Regions from separate parts of the Homo sapiens genome. Here region 1 is linked to region 2. The links are contacts of gene promoters, found by promoter capture Hi-C in human tissues and cell types (Jung and others, 2019). All regions are on one chromosome and are shown on one strand. Each heading gives the region's core, a stretch centred on a gene start or on the middle of the fragment in contact. The rest is flanking DNA. Distances are from core to core; before and after follow the strand shown.

What was found. The method cuts DNA at HindIII sites, captures the fragments that hold promoters and counts their contacts. A contact is called where the count stands out against the background at its distance.
Region 1: a fragment that was not itself captured here is called in contact with the fragment with the promoter of MYLIP in region 2 in 1 of the 25 tissues and cell types used here (lymphoblastoid cells).

Annotation. Positions count from the first base shown.
Region 1 is chr6:14,884,735-14,890,622 of GRCh38, forward strand. All of the region lies in intron 2 of LOC105374945 (a long non-coding RNA gene), which reads right to left. Among named protein-coding and RNA genes, the nearest start is that of JARID2-DT, 360 kb to the right of the region's middle. The HindIII fragment of the contact is 4,509 bases long and covers 2,262-5,888 here.
Region 2 is chr6:16,124,242-16,130,382 of GRCh38, forward strand. MYLIP (myosin regulatory light chain interacting protein) reads left to right here and starts at 4,845. Exons shown (of 7, transcript NM_013262.4): 1 at 4,845-5,168. The coding sequence starts at 5,082. RefSeq lists a silencer at 4,527-5,526. The HindIII fragment of the contact is 3,904 bases long and covers 2,719-6,141 here.

The DNA of each region.
Region 1 (5,888 bases), core at 3,266-5,765, 1.2 Mb before region 2:
TTGAGGAAAAAAAAAAATCTTGTATTTCCAAACACTAAATTATGTGGCTTTTGACTTTGAAAATGGCCTGGTGATATTATTTCTTAGGATCTATGTGGTACAGCAAATGGTGTATCTGCCCATCACAACTACTCTAAAAGATTCAAGAGTCGCTCAATATTAAGCTGAGATGAGACAAAGATAAGACATGAAAATAAATTTCAGGTCTAACTGAGACTGGCTTAATAAGACTGATATGGTACAAAAGCATACGAATTTTTCACTCCCCTACTAAGAACATATTTTCCAACACGAATCCTGCCTTCCAGGACAATCCAGCCCAGTCTGAAATAATGCATGTGTAAAAAGGAATGGAATAGGAAACAGAGACAAGTGAAGGTGGCTATAGAAGTTCAGAATACAGGCCGGGGGCAGTGGTTCATGCCTGTAATCCCAGCACTTTGGGAGGCTGAGGTGGGCGTATCACCTGAGGTCAGGAGTTTGAGACCAGCCTGACCAACATGGTGAAACGCTGTCTCTACTAAAAATACAAAAAAATTTTGTGGTGGTAGATGTCTGTAATCCCAGCTACTTGGGAGGCTGAGGTAAGAAAATCGCTTGAACCCAAGAGGCGGAGGTTGCAGTGAGCCGAGATCGCGCCATTGCACTCCAGCCTGGTTGACAAAAGAGAGACTTCGTCTCAAAAAAAAAAAAAAAAAAAAAAAAAAAAAAAATTCAGAAGACAGAAGTGCTTCTGGATGGAGAGAGGGAGATGGACAGGAAGCTGCTCTATTTGCAAGAACAACTGAGAAGCTTCATGGGAAAGGGAAATGGAGCTGTCTATTTGGACACTTACAACTGATGCCTTTATGAAGCTCCTCAGACAGCCGTACGGGGTCAACACACTTAAAGAGCCAGCAGAGCCCTGGATGAGAAACTTCCCGGCCAGCTCCCTCTGGACCACAGCCATCTTCCTAAGAAGGCGGAGATGAGCTAAAAACTGAGTCAGTCGAAGCTCTATCACTGTCCCATTGCAGGCTGTGACCTGGTGTGGGGGAAAGAATTGTAATCCCCACCCACTCACCCTAACCCAGAGCCTGATGGAGAGGAACAGGATAAAAGTCACACAGGTTCCTCATTCATGAGGCCTTCTGGAGGCAGACAGAATCCCAACTATAGTGGCCAGACCAACAGTGTGGGGTCTGTTGTGGGGAGCTGCGGTGGTGCCTCCATTGCCATCACAGCCATTTTCAAACACTAAGCGACTCCCTGTTGGTCCCCACCCAGAGGGAAAGCCCGGCAGGACTAGAGAGATCCAGCAGGGCTGGGGGAGAGTCAGGGGGCTGCTGCGGTTCCTGTGACTGGGACAGTTTGACACAGTGGGACCAGGATGGCTCGGAGAAACTCACTACCCTACTAAGGGCTGTAAGAGGACATGGCATTCAGGCTGGGCCTCAAGGAGGAGAGTGTGAACATCTGGATGAAAGAGAGGCATGCACCCAAAGGTTTCACACAAAGGCATTCAGTGATGAAAATAAAATATAGAAGAAGAAAAGGTGCATTTCCAGGAATGAAAACCGGATAGAGCACAGACCCACATAAGCATGCACATTGTTTTTTGCCTTCTTTCTTGCAACTTTTCCATATCTTATATCAGCTCAGGGACAGAGCCATGAGCTCCCTCCAAATTTTTCCACATCCCAGCTCTCTGTGGTTCATTCATCGTAATGTTTTTTTAAGTCATGATGTGCTTAAGATATTAGGAATGAATGGAGCTGCACTCACCTGCCCCTGCTGACTGCTTGTTACTGCATCTATCCTGCTCATTGTTCTAATTCTACTTATTTTTATTTTTTTGAGAGAGTCTCACTCTGTCTCCCAGGCTGGAGTGCAATAAGGCTCACTGCAACCCCTGCCTCCCAGGTTCAAGTGATTCTCCTGCCTCAGCCTCCTGAGTAGCTGGGATTACAGGTACCCGCCACCATGCCTGGCTAACTTTTTTTTTTTGTATTTTTAGTAGAAATGGGGTTTCGCCATGTTTGCCAGGCTGGGCTCGAACTCCTGACCTCAAGTGATCTGCCCACCTCGATTGTTGTAATTGTAAATTCCCCACCACACACACTCACGTTTCATTTCTCCCTCCTCTGACATTAGTTCGCCTGACTTACGGAAGTCAGGGGACTTATCTCCTGACAAGGCTAGGTGATGACTTAGGAGAAGGAGGATCATGGGTCTCTGGCCTGAAGTAAGAGCTTCCCTCTGGGATAAGGCAGGAGTTGGAGGCTGCAGGTGCGAGGAAGGAAGCCAAGGTCAATGTCACATCTCACTATTCAGAGTGTGGTCTGGGGCCAGCAGCATCGGCATCATCTGGGGGTTTGTTAAAGATGCAGCATCTCAGGCCCAGCTCTAGAGCAACCGAATCAGAATATGCATTTGAAGAACATCCTAGCAAACAGATCTCCAGTCGCATTTGAAGAACATCCTAGCAAACAGATCTCATTGGTATTAGCTAATATCTACGATACTATCTGTATTATCTAACAGATAACCGACAAGCACTGCACATTGAGGTGTCTCTCTACCTATGTCATCTCTTTTAATCCTCAGAACAACCTGACACAGACAGTCTGACCCTCCTTTTTACAGAAAAGCAACCGTGGCTCAGAGAGGTTAACTTATTTGCCCAAGACCACACAGCTACCTTTCAGCAAAACATAGAGTTTAGCTGAATCTGGCTGATTCCAAAGTCACTGTCTTTTCCACCACATATCTGAAGTCCAGTGCTGAGTGGAGAAAAGAAAATTCTAGCAATAAGCCCTCACCACCCAGCAAGTCAGTGATGTCAGTCAGTATCCTGACTGAACAAATGCATGCAGACAGGCAGTTATCTGAATATTTGTCAGCAAGTTACAAGCCCAGTGGGTTGGGAACCCGGAGTGAGGATCCATTTCTGAAGGCCACAGGAGGACTGCCACGAACCAGGCTGCACCCCTGTCCTAGGGCATCTGTAACACTGAGCAGGGACCCCAGGAACAGGCAGACCTGACCAGCCCCACACTGGGAGAAACGCTCCAGACCAGCAGCCAGTTCTGAACCCGATGTAGCGGACAAGTCCGGGGCTGCATGCCAGATGGCAGAGCAACAAATTGCAGTTTCTTTTTTTTTTTTCAGAGGGAGACAGGGTCTTACTATGTTGCCCAGCCTGGTCTTGAATTCCTGGGCTCAAGCAATCATCCCGCCTCAACCTCTCAATGTACTGGGTTTACAGGTGTCAACCACCACACCTGGCCTAAGTTAAAGTTTCTTAAATCCTTCCCACCTAAAATCAAACCTGGGCTTGGGGGAAAGAAGCAGCTGTAAGAAGACCATCCTGAGGACAGGATACTGACTAAAGTCATTGCCTTGCTGGGTAGTGAGGGGTTTGCAATGTCATGAGCAGCTTTTGCTATGTGGTGAGCAACTGTCCCGGCATCTGCCGTCACGGGCTGGGAAGACCAGGTAAGAGTTGACATGCCCTGCTAGAGATGAACCCAAGGTGCTGTGGGCGGCCCCACCCAATATATTCTCCATGGAACCCAAGAGCCTTGTCAAGTTACTGCAAATGCACAGTCTTAGTTTCAAATCAAGGCCCTCCATCCATAACTGCTTGTTTCAAGGGAAGGTCGCTGCCAAACTATTTCTTCATTTCTAATAGGCACCTAGAAAGCAACAGAGGGATGGTAGAAAGCCACATGACAGCCATTTGGCAAAGCTTTTCAGAATTGCTTTTCTATTTTTCTGTTTTGTAGGCTCTGGGGTTCCATTGAGACTTCTACAGTCAAGCAAGGATCCCATTTCTTAACATTTTGCAAGCCTTTTTTACAAATGCCAAAAAACATGCCTAGGGCAGAGCCATGGACTTTCTGAGCTCTGTTTACTAAACCACAGATTGTGACAGCCCCAGAGCTGGTTGTTCCCATCCAATCTGTCCTTCACATTGTTACCAAATCTGGCTTCTTAAATCAGGCCTGTCACCCTGTTGTTCCCTTGCTGAAGGACTTCTATCACTGGTGGGAGCAAGTCCAACCTCGGATTTGCATTGGCACCCCTTCATCAGCAGGCCTGCTTCACCCCTGAAGCTTGGTACGTACTGTCCATCCCCCAGGGCAGGGAGTAGCCAAGCCCAGTTCCTTCGTGCCACTGGGCCTTCCTACCGCAGTTGTTTCTACCAACTGTGCTCCCTTAGGCAGCATGGTGGTGAAACCAAGCCAAGGCCAGAGTCATATGGCAACAGCCCCACAAACTATGTGTCCTCTGCCCAGCTGCAGGTGTCGCACAGAGGTTAGGTGAAGTGGCGTGCTGATAAAAGTTTAATAAGTGGCTCTCCAGGAGAGAAAATGTGTGCATATGTAGATGTAAACACATAGGTTTATTATAAACTTTACTGCTATATGATACACACAATCTGGTAAATTCCATATAGCCAATTGTTTCTTATGTATGCTTTCATTGATTTTTATTTTACTTATTTTTATTTTTAAATATAATAACCAGAGACAGGGTCTCACTATGTTGCCCAGGCTGGTCTCGAACTCCTGCCCCATCCTCCTGCCTCAGCCTCTCAGAGTGCTGTGATTACAGGCATGAGTCACCACACCCAGCAACTTCCATTGATTTTTGACAAACTCTCTTCTCTGTAGCCAACCAGTGTGGCAACTGATGAACAAGTATAGTTCTGGGATGGCTGTTGGTTGCTATTTTCATTTATGTAAACAACAGGAAAGTGAAACAACTAAGATCTGTGTCAGAATTCCACTCATTCGTCAATGATAGGAACAACTCCTTTACAGAATCAGATACAGTTGTCAAAGACTGGAGGAAGATTTTCTCAAATTTTTTTGTGTCATTCACAAAGTAATGGCTATTGATAGGCAGACTTTAAAGTTTTATCTGTATGTTTAATATTATCTCCCTCACTTCCTTAAGTCTAGACCAAGGGTTCCATAAAATTTGACTCTTACGAGCCAGATAGTAAATATTAACTTTGTGAGCTATTCGGTCTCTGTCACAACTACTCAACGGGGCCATTGTAGTGCCAAATCAGCCGTCGACAACAGGAACACAAAAGAGCGTCCCTGCTATGTCCCAATAAAACTTTTTATGAAAGCAAGTGGGGGCCCAGATTTGGCCCACAGGCTGTAGTTCCCAACCCCTTGTCTAGACAACCAATGAGACAATAAATCCAGCCTGATTTGTAGCGTTTGTTTACAAATCAGTTGCTGTGGCTATTTCAAGCTAACAATGCAAAGTCACTGCACGAGGAGTATGGGGAGGTGGTGTTCACCAGCTTGTAGAAATCTAATGTCATATTTCTACTGGTGTGAGTTTCCTAGGGCTGCCATCACAAGGTGCCACAAACCAAGTGCCTCAAACAACAGAAATTCATTGTTCCACGGTTCAGGAGACTGCAAGTCCAAGTTGAAGGTGTGGGCAAGGGGGGCTCCTTCTGTGAGCCCCGAGGGAAAATCTGTTCCCTGTGTCTCTCCCAGCTCCTGATGGTTTGCTGCCGTGTTGGGCGATTCTTGGCTTCTGCTGCATCGCCCCAATCTCTGCCTTCATCTTCACGTGACATCCTCCCTGCGTGCATATTTCTCTGTGCCCAAACTTCCTCTTTTTATAAGGACACCAGTAATATTGGACTAGGGCCCCACCCTAATGACCTCATCTGAACTAATTACATCTTCAACAACCCTCTTTCCAGATAAGGTCACGTTCTGAGATACTGGGGGTTAGGACTTCAACATATGAATTTGTGGAGGGAGGGAACACAAATGAACCCATAAGACCACCGTACAGTGACAATAGTCATAAAGAGCTTCTAGAGCATAGATAATAAAAAATAGTTGGGAGGCCGAGGCGGGAGGATCACG
Region 2 (6,141 bases), core at 3,595-6,094:
ACTACTCCTGAATTTCACAAGCCTAATATTTCAAATGAGAGATTTCAGCTCATTTGACATATTCTAACATACTTGTGCTTGATGAAGTGTTACTTATGTGAACCATTAGCTTGAATAATGTGTGAAAGCAAAATGACGGTTTTCTTAGGCAGTCACTAATTGTTCTTCCCTCAGTGCTTCTACAAATGAACGTTGAGAGGCAGAGAGAAGGGTGTGGCAGGTGATGAAGGCTGTCCTTCTCTGGAGACCCAGCATAGGGTTTCTGCAGCAGTGCACGCAGTGTTGAGAATGCAATGCACAGAGATAGGTACCCAGCCATCCAGATCAGACCCAGTGCTCAATTAGAAGGAAGATTTTGCAGCCAAATGATCATCACATCCACACAAATACCATCTAGTGCTCAGTCTTGAGCCCTAGTATGTGAGACAGAGAAAATCTGTGGTGCTTGGGTGTGTCTGAACAGCTAGAACTCCACTGGGTTAGCCAACTCTACCGCCTAGTTATGGTTTCTATTTTTAAATTCTATATTCATACAGCTGACCTTTTTTTTTCCACTATGCTGGTTAATTTTAATGCTATCTTTAAAAGATGAGAGCTAATTGAGAGAAAAAGAGAGCAGACACAGATAACTTGGGCATCTCTCTGGCTTCAATCACTGCTCAATCTAATATAGTTCCCACCCTGGGTGTTCAGAGTCTCTTATTTGGAGTTAGACCCAGCTGGGGCTTGAAACTGGCTCCAGACATTCAGCAGCATTAGCAGATGGTGGAATCCTCGAGGAAGTAATTCTACTGCGGGTTTTCTATTCCCTAACCAGGTCTTTTGAGCATAATGTGCTTTCTCACCAGCTCACTCAGCCTCCTCATTCTGTAACTAACCAGTCTCTCCTTAGCTCTACTCAAGGAATAAATTACAAAACAGAGATGGAGAGAAAAGACAGAGAGAGAAAGCGAGGAGAGAGAGGGGTCATGGTCCAGTATATTCCATACATGCTAGTGGGAAGCCAGTATTTTTTTTTTTTTTTTTTTTTGCTTCCCAGTCATAAGGATTTCTTACTGCCCGCCCCTCCCACCCCCAAGTGCCATTTTCCTATTTTTAGCTTTGTTTTTGTTTTAAGAAATCCTTCTCTTCAGTCTTATCTGGGGATTCTTAATTTCAAAACAATTGAAATCTTCACCAACCATCCTATAGCAGAAGCACTATCTGGGTTTGGATTAGAAATATCCCTGTCACGAGCACAGTGGCTCACACCTGTAATCCCAACTCTTTGGGAGGCAGAGGCAGGAGGGTCGCTTGAGCCCGGGAGTTTGAGACCAACCTGAGCAACATAGCGAGACACCCATCTCTACAAAAAAATACAAAAATTAACTGGGTGTCGTGGCACCTGCTTGTGGTCCCAGCTACGCTGGAGGCTGATGCGGGAAGACTGCTTGAGCCCAGGAGTTCAAGGCCGCAGTGAGCTATTTTCACATCACTGCCTGCCCTCTAGTCTGGCAACAGAGCAAGACTCTGTCTCTGAAAAAAAATTAAAAAAAAAAAATTCTTGTAAATCTTCTACTTCCAACTATTGTGCAAATGACAATTGTTAAAAATAGGTCGGGGCGGTGGCTCACACTTGTAATCCCAGCACTTTGGGAGGCCAAGGCGGGCAGATCACTTGAGGTCAGGAGTTCGAGACCAGCCTGACCAACATAGCAAAACCCTGTCTCTACTAAAAAAGCAAAAAATTAGCCGGGTGTGGGGGCGCGTGCCTATAATCCCAGCTACTCGGGAGGCTAAGGTAGGAGAATTGCTTGAACCAGGGAGTCGGAGGCTACAGTGAGCCAAGATCATGCCATTGCACTCCAGCCTGGGCAACAAGAACAAAACTCTGTCTAAACAACAACAACAACAACAACAAAACTATGAAAAATGTGGGGTTTTGTTTGTTTTTTGTTTTGTTTGAGAAAGGGTCTCACTCCCTTCGGCCAAGCTGGAGTGCAGTGGTGAGATCATGATTGACTGAAGCCTGGACTTTCTGGACTCAAGCCATCCTCCCACCTCAGCACGCTGAGTATCTGGGACTACAGACACATGCCATCATGCCTGGCTAATTTTTTATATTTTTAGTAGAGATGGGGTTTTGCCATTTTGCTCAGGCTGATCTCAAACTCCTGGGCTCAAGGGATCTGCCTGCCTCGGCCTCCCAGGGCTCTGGGATGACAGGCATGAGCCACCACGCCTGGCCAAAAAGTTTTAAATAAAATAAACATGTCAGATTTTACCTATGCTTCTACAAACTATTTTACAAGCTTAGATTTTTTAAAAAAACAATGAAATCATACTTGCAAAAGAAAAATCCCTGCTAAAACCAAAAATATAAGTTATTTTTAAAGTAGTCCACAAAGTGGGTATTTGGTTTGGGTGTTTGCTTGTTTTATTTTTGTTTATTTTTTTTTTCTTGGCCAACCAATATTTTCCCGTTCTACTCATTTCCACACCTGGTCCCATTGATTCTATGAGTTTCCAGTTAGCCAGCTTTAGTTTCTATTGTTCATAAACAAAAATACTAACCAATATAACTGGTCTCCCTATTGCCCCTCGCCTCTTCTTCCTCTTCTGAAACTTCTAGCAATTAAGCATAAAGTAGACAAGGAATGAACCAAACGCTATCTTCCAGATAAATTCCCCAGATTATTAGTAAACTGGAATTCAGGGAATAGGCACTGCAGTTAATACAAGAAGGGACTGTTTCAGCCCACAATAGCATGAGGTGTATTTATAAGACAGAAAGATGTGAGAGTGCACCTGTTCCTCTGCAACAGTGGGGGTTAGGACTTGGACAGTTTACAGTTTTACTCGGTCAGCTTTAGCAAAGAACTGTGTGTGGGAGGATCCCTCCTTTTTTTTTAGCCTTGGGCTCTGATATCGTACCTGGTTGTTCGGAAATAAAGGCCACTAACAGATCCTTGGGACTCGTGAAGGGGGGTAGGGACAGGAAAAGTCATCATTAAGCAGTGAAGGCACTGAACTTATAGCTCCCCTTACATACACGGGGACATTCAAATGCTTTTGTGAACGTTATTATCTTTGCTGCGCTTCCCAACAATGCTGGGTGGAGACAGAGCAGATATTGCCATCTCCATTTTACTGTTGACAACACCAAGCTTCAGACAGATGAAGTAAGTTTTCTCTTTTTTTTTCTTTCGTTGTTTTCTTTTTGTTGTTGTTGTTGTTTAGAGACAGGGTCTTTTGCTCTGTCGCCTAGGCTGGAGTGCAGTAGGGGGATCACAGCACACTGCAGCCTCGAACTCCCAGGCTCAAGTGATCCTCCCACCTCAGCCTCCCATGTAGCTGAGACTACAGGCAGGCGCCACCACGCCTGGCTAATTTTTTGTATTTTGTGTAGAGATGGGGTTTCGCTGTGTTGCGAAACCGGGCTGGTCTCAAACTGCTGGGCTCAGGCGATCCTCCTGCCTCGGCCTCCAAAAGTGCTGGGATTACAGGTGTGAGCCATCGAGCTGGCCTGAAGTAAGTTTGCTAAGTTTCCACGGCTGAAACCCACATCATCTGGCTCCTATAAAGAAATCAAAAAGGTAGGCTATGTAATATATTGGCAAAGAGGAACAAGCGGTAAATGAGTGAAGGGTTGTAGACCTTTAATAGCTAATATTGCAGTAATGCCACCTGTTAGGTCAGGAGATGAGCACCTTACCTTAAGACGAGGACAACATCTGGTTGCCTGTGAGAAGGGACAGGCAGGGTATCAGGTGCTGCACAAATGTTTAATGAATGAGTGAGATAAGACAGGAGGTAGAATGAGCAACCTGAGAGAGGGCCTGGTACCCTGTAAGGCGTTTTGATTCAGCAGAACGAGTAAGGAGAAGCCCTTCCGGAGTGTAACACACCAGCACTAGACCAAGACACCTGGCTCACTGGTCAGCTGCAAAAACTTTCATACTCAGATTTTGTTTTTCTCAATGATGAGGTCTTAATAAGGAACAACAATTCTGCCTCCAAGCAACCCACTGTGGCTAATCCTGGTGGAAAAGAGTTTTCTTTTTCTCTTTTTTTTTTCTTTTTTCTTTTTCTTTTCTTTTTTTTTTTTTTTTTTTTTTTTTTTTTGAGACAGGGTTTTTTGCTCTTCTTGCCCAAGCTACAGTGCAGTGACACAATCTCAGCTCACTGCAACCTCCGCCTCCTGGGTTCAAGCGATTCTCCTGCCTCAGCCTCCCAGGTAGCTGGGATTACAGGTGCCCGCCACCACGCCTGGCTATTTTGTTTTTTTTTTTGTATTTTTAGTAGAGACGGGGGTTTCACCATGTTTGCCAGGCTGGTCTCGAATCTGACCTCAGGTGATCCACCCATCTCGGCCTCCCAAAGTGCTGGGATTACAGGCGTGAGCCACCATGCCCGGACGAGAACAGTTTTCTTTAGGCTTTGGGTTGCTCCTTTTCCTTTTTGCTTTCACAACCGAAATGCGTGCTCAGAGTGATCCAAGATATTTGAAGAACAGTGGCAGCTTGGAGGTGTTTAATCACCGTAAATTCGAGACGGCAGAAAGGCGTCCCCGCCTGGAGCCCCGGGCGATCGCTCACTCTGAGCAGCGTCGCCCAGCGGACAGAGGCGGCTGGTGTGTTCCGGGGTCTCCCTCCCTTCCCGCAGCACTCGGCGCCCGCAAGCTGCCACCTCCCGGGGCGGCCAGGGAAACTCAGCCGGCTCTGGGAGGCGGGGGCCGCGGTCGAGGGGCGCCGCTATTGGCTGATCGGGCGGGGGAGGAGGGGCAGGGAGGCCGTGATTGGCGGGGACCCGAGCTGAAGGGGGCGGGGCCGCTATATCAGCAGAGTCCCTGTCGCAGCGCAGGCAGTTGGGCTGCTGGAGTGCGGCGCCACCGCGGAGGACAGGGGCAGCTGGCGGGCAGCGGGTGAGGGGGTGGCGGGGACGCGAGTGGCGGCCGCGGGGCCCCGGACAAGGGTCCGCAGAGCTGCAGCCTTCGAGGGCCAGCCCTCTCCGAGTCCGGGGCTGGGTCCCACCAGTGACAAGGCGGCAGCCCCGCGCACACCAAAGAGAAGGCGGCTGTGGCGGCAGCGGCAGCCCCAGCCATGCTGTGTTATGTGACGAGGCCGGACGCGGTGCTGATGGAGGTGGAGGTGGAGGCGAAAGCCAACGGCGAGGACTGCCTCAACCAGGTGAGGGCGAGGGGCAAGAAGGGGCCCCGGCGGGTCCCGCGAGGCCGAGGGGCCTCGCAGCGACGCCTGGCACTCTGGCGCGCCCCCTACTAGGGGCCGGGAGGCACTGCGGCGGCAGCCGGGGGGAGCGCGTCCCCTCCTCTCCACGGGCGTGGGGCGCGCGGTCTCCTCCTGGCGCGCGTGGGGTGCGCGGAGAAAGCGCGCAGCGGGGGTCCCCAGCGCTGAGGGCCGGGCGCAGCCCGCAGCCGGGATCCACCCCCCAGCGCCCCATCATCCCCCCAACCCAGCACTTTCCCGGAAGAAGGCGGCTCCGCACACCTGCCGCAGGTATGTGCGTGATGCCGCCTGTCGGGTCCCCGCGGCGCCTGGCAGTGCCACCCGCGTGCCAGGATGGGATGGAGTGGCTCGAAGCAGTCTCGGGCCCCAGGGGTTCTTGGCAGACAAGCCGGGCCCTTGTCTCACGCTGCTTCTCAGGCTGCTGCTCTCAAATGCACCGTTCACCTGCATCTCCGGGTTTGCGGGGGACGGGAGGAATAGGTTTGGGTCATCTACTGCTCGGTTGTTTTTAAGCATGTGTTTCCTTAACAGTGAGGGAGATCGGTGCCAAATAGTGCAGAGGTGGTATGGCAGACAGCACATGTGATCCCAGGAAAACGCTGTGCCCTCAACCCCTCTAGCTCTGAGATGTTTGGAAAACCGCTTGTGAAGCTTAGCTGACACTTGTGGCGTGTTCCCTCAATGTGTTTGATTTTTGGAGTCCAAATGGTTAAAATTGCCCAGATAATAAGTCGCCAAAAATCAGCTGTGCAGAGTATGCTGGTGGAGGGAATTCCGGTGATTGGAATACGAAGGAAAATACCCTGTAGTTTCCCCTCCTCATCTTTTGGAAGGCTACTTTTGAGGACTCCTTTTTTCTCTATTGCAATTGGTCATGCCCTAGACGTTAAAAGGAATTATGAGCCTCCATACTAGA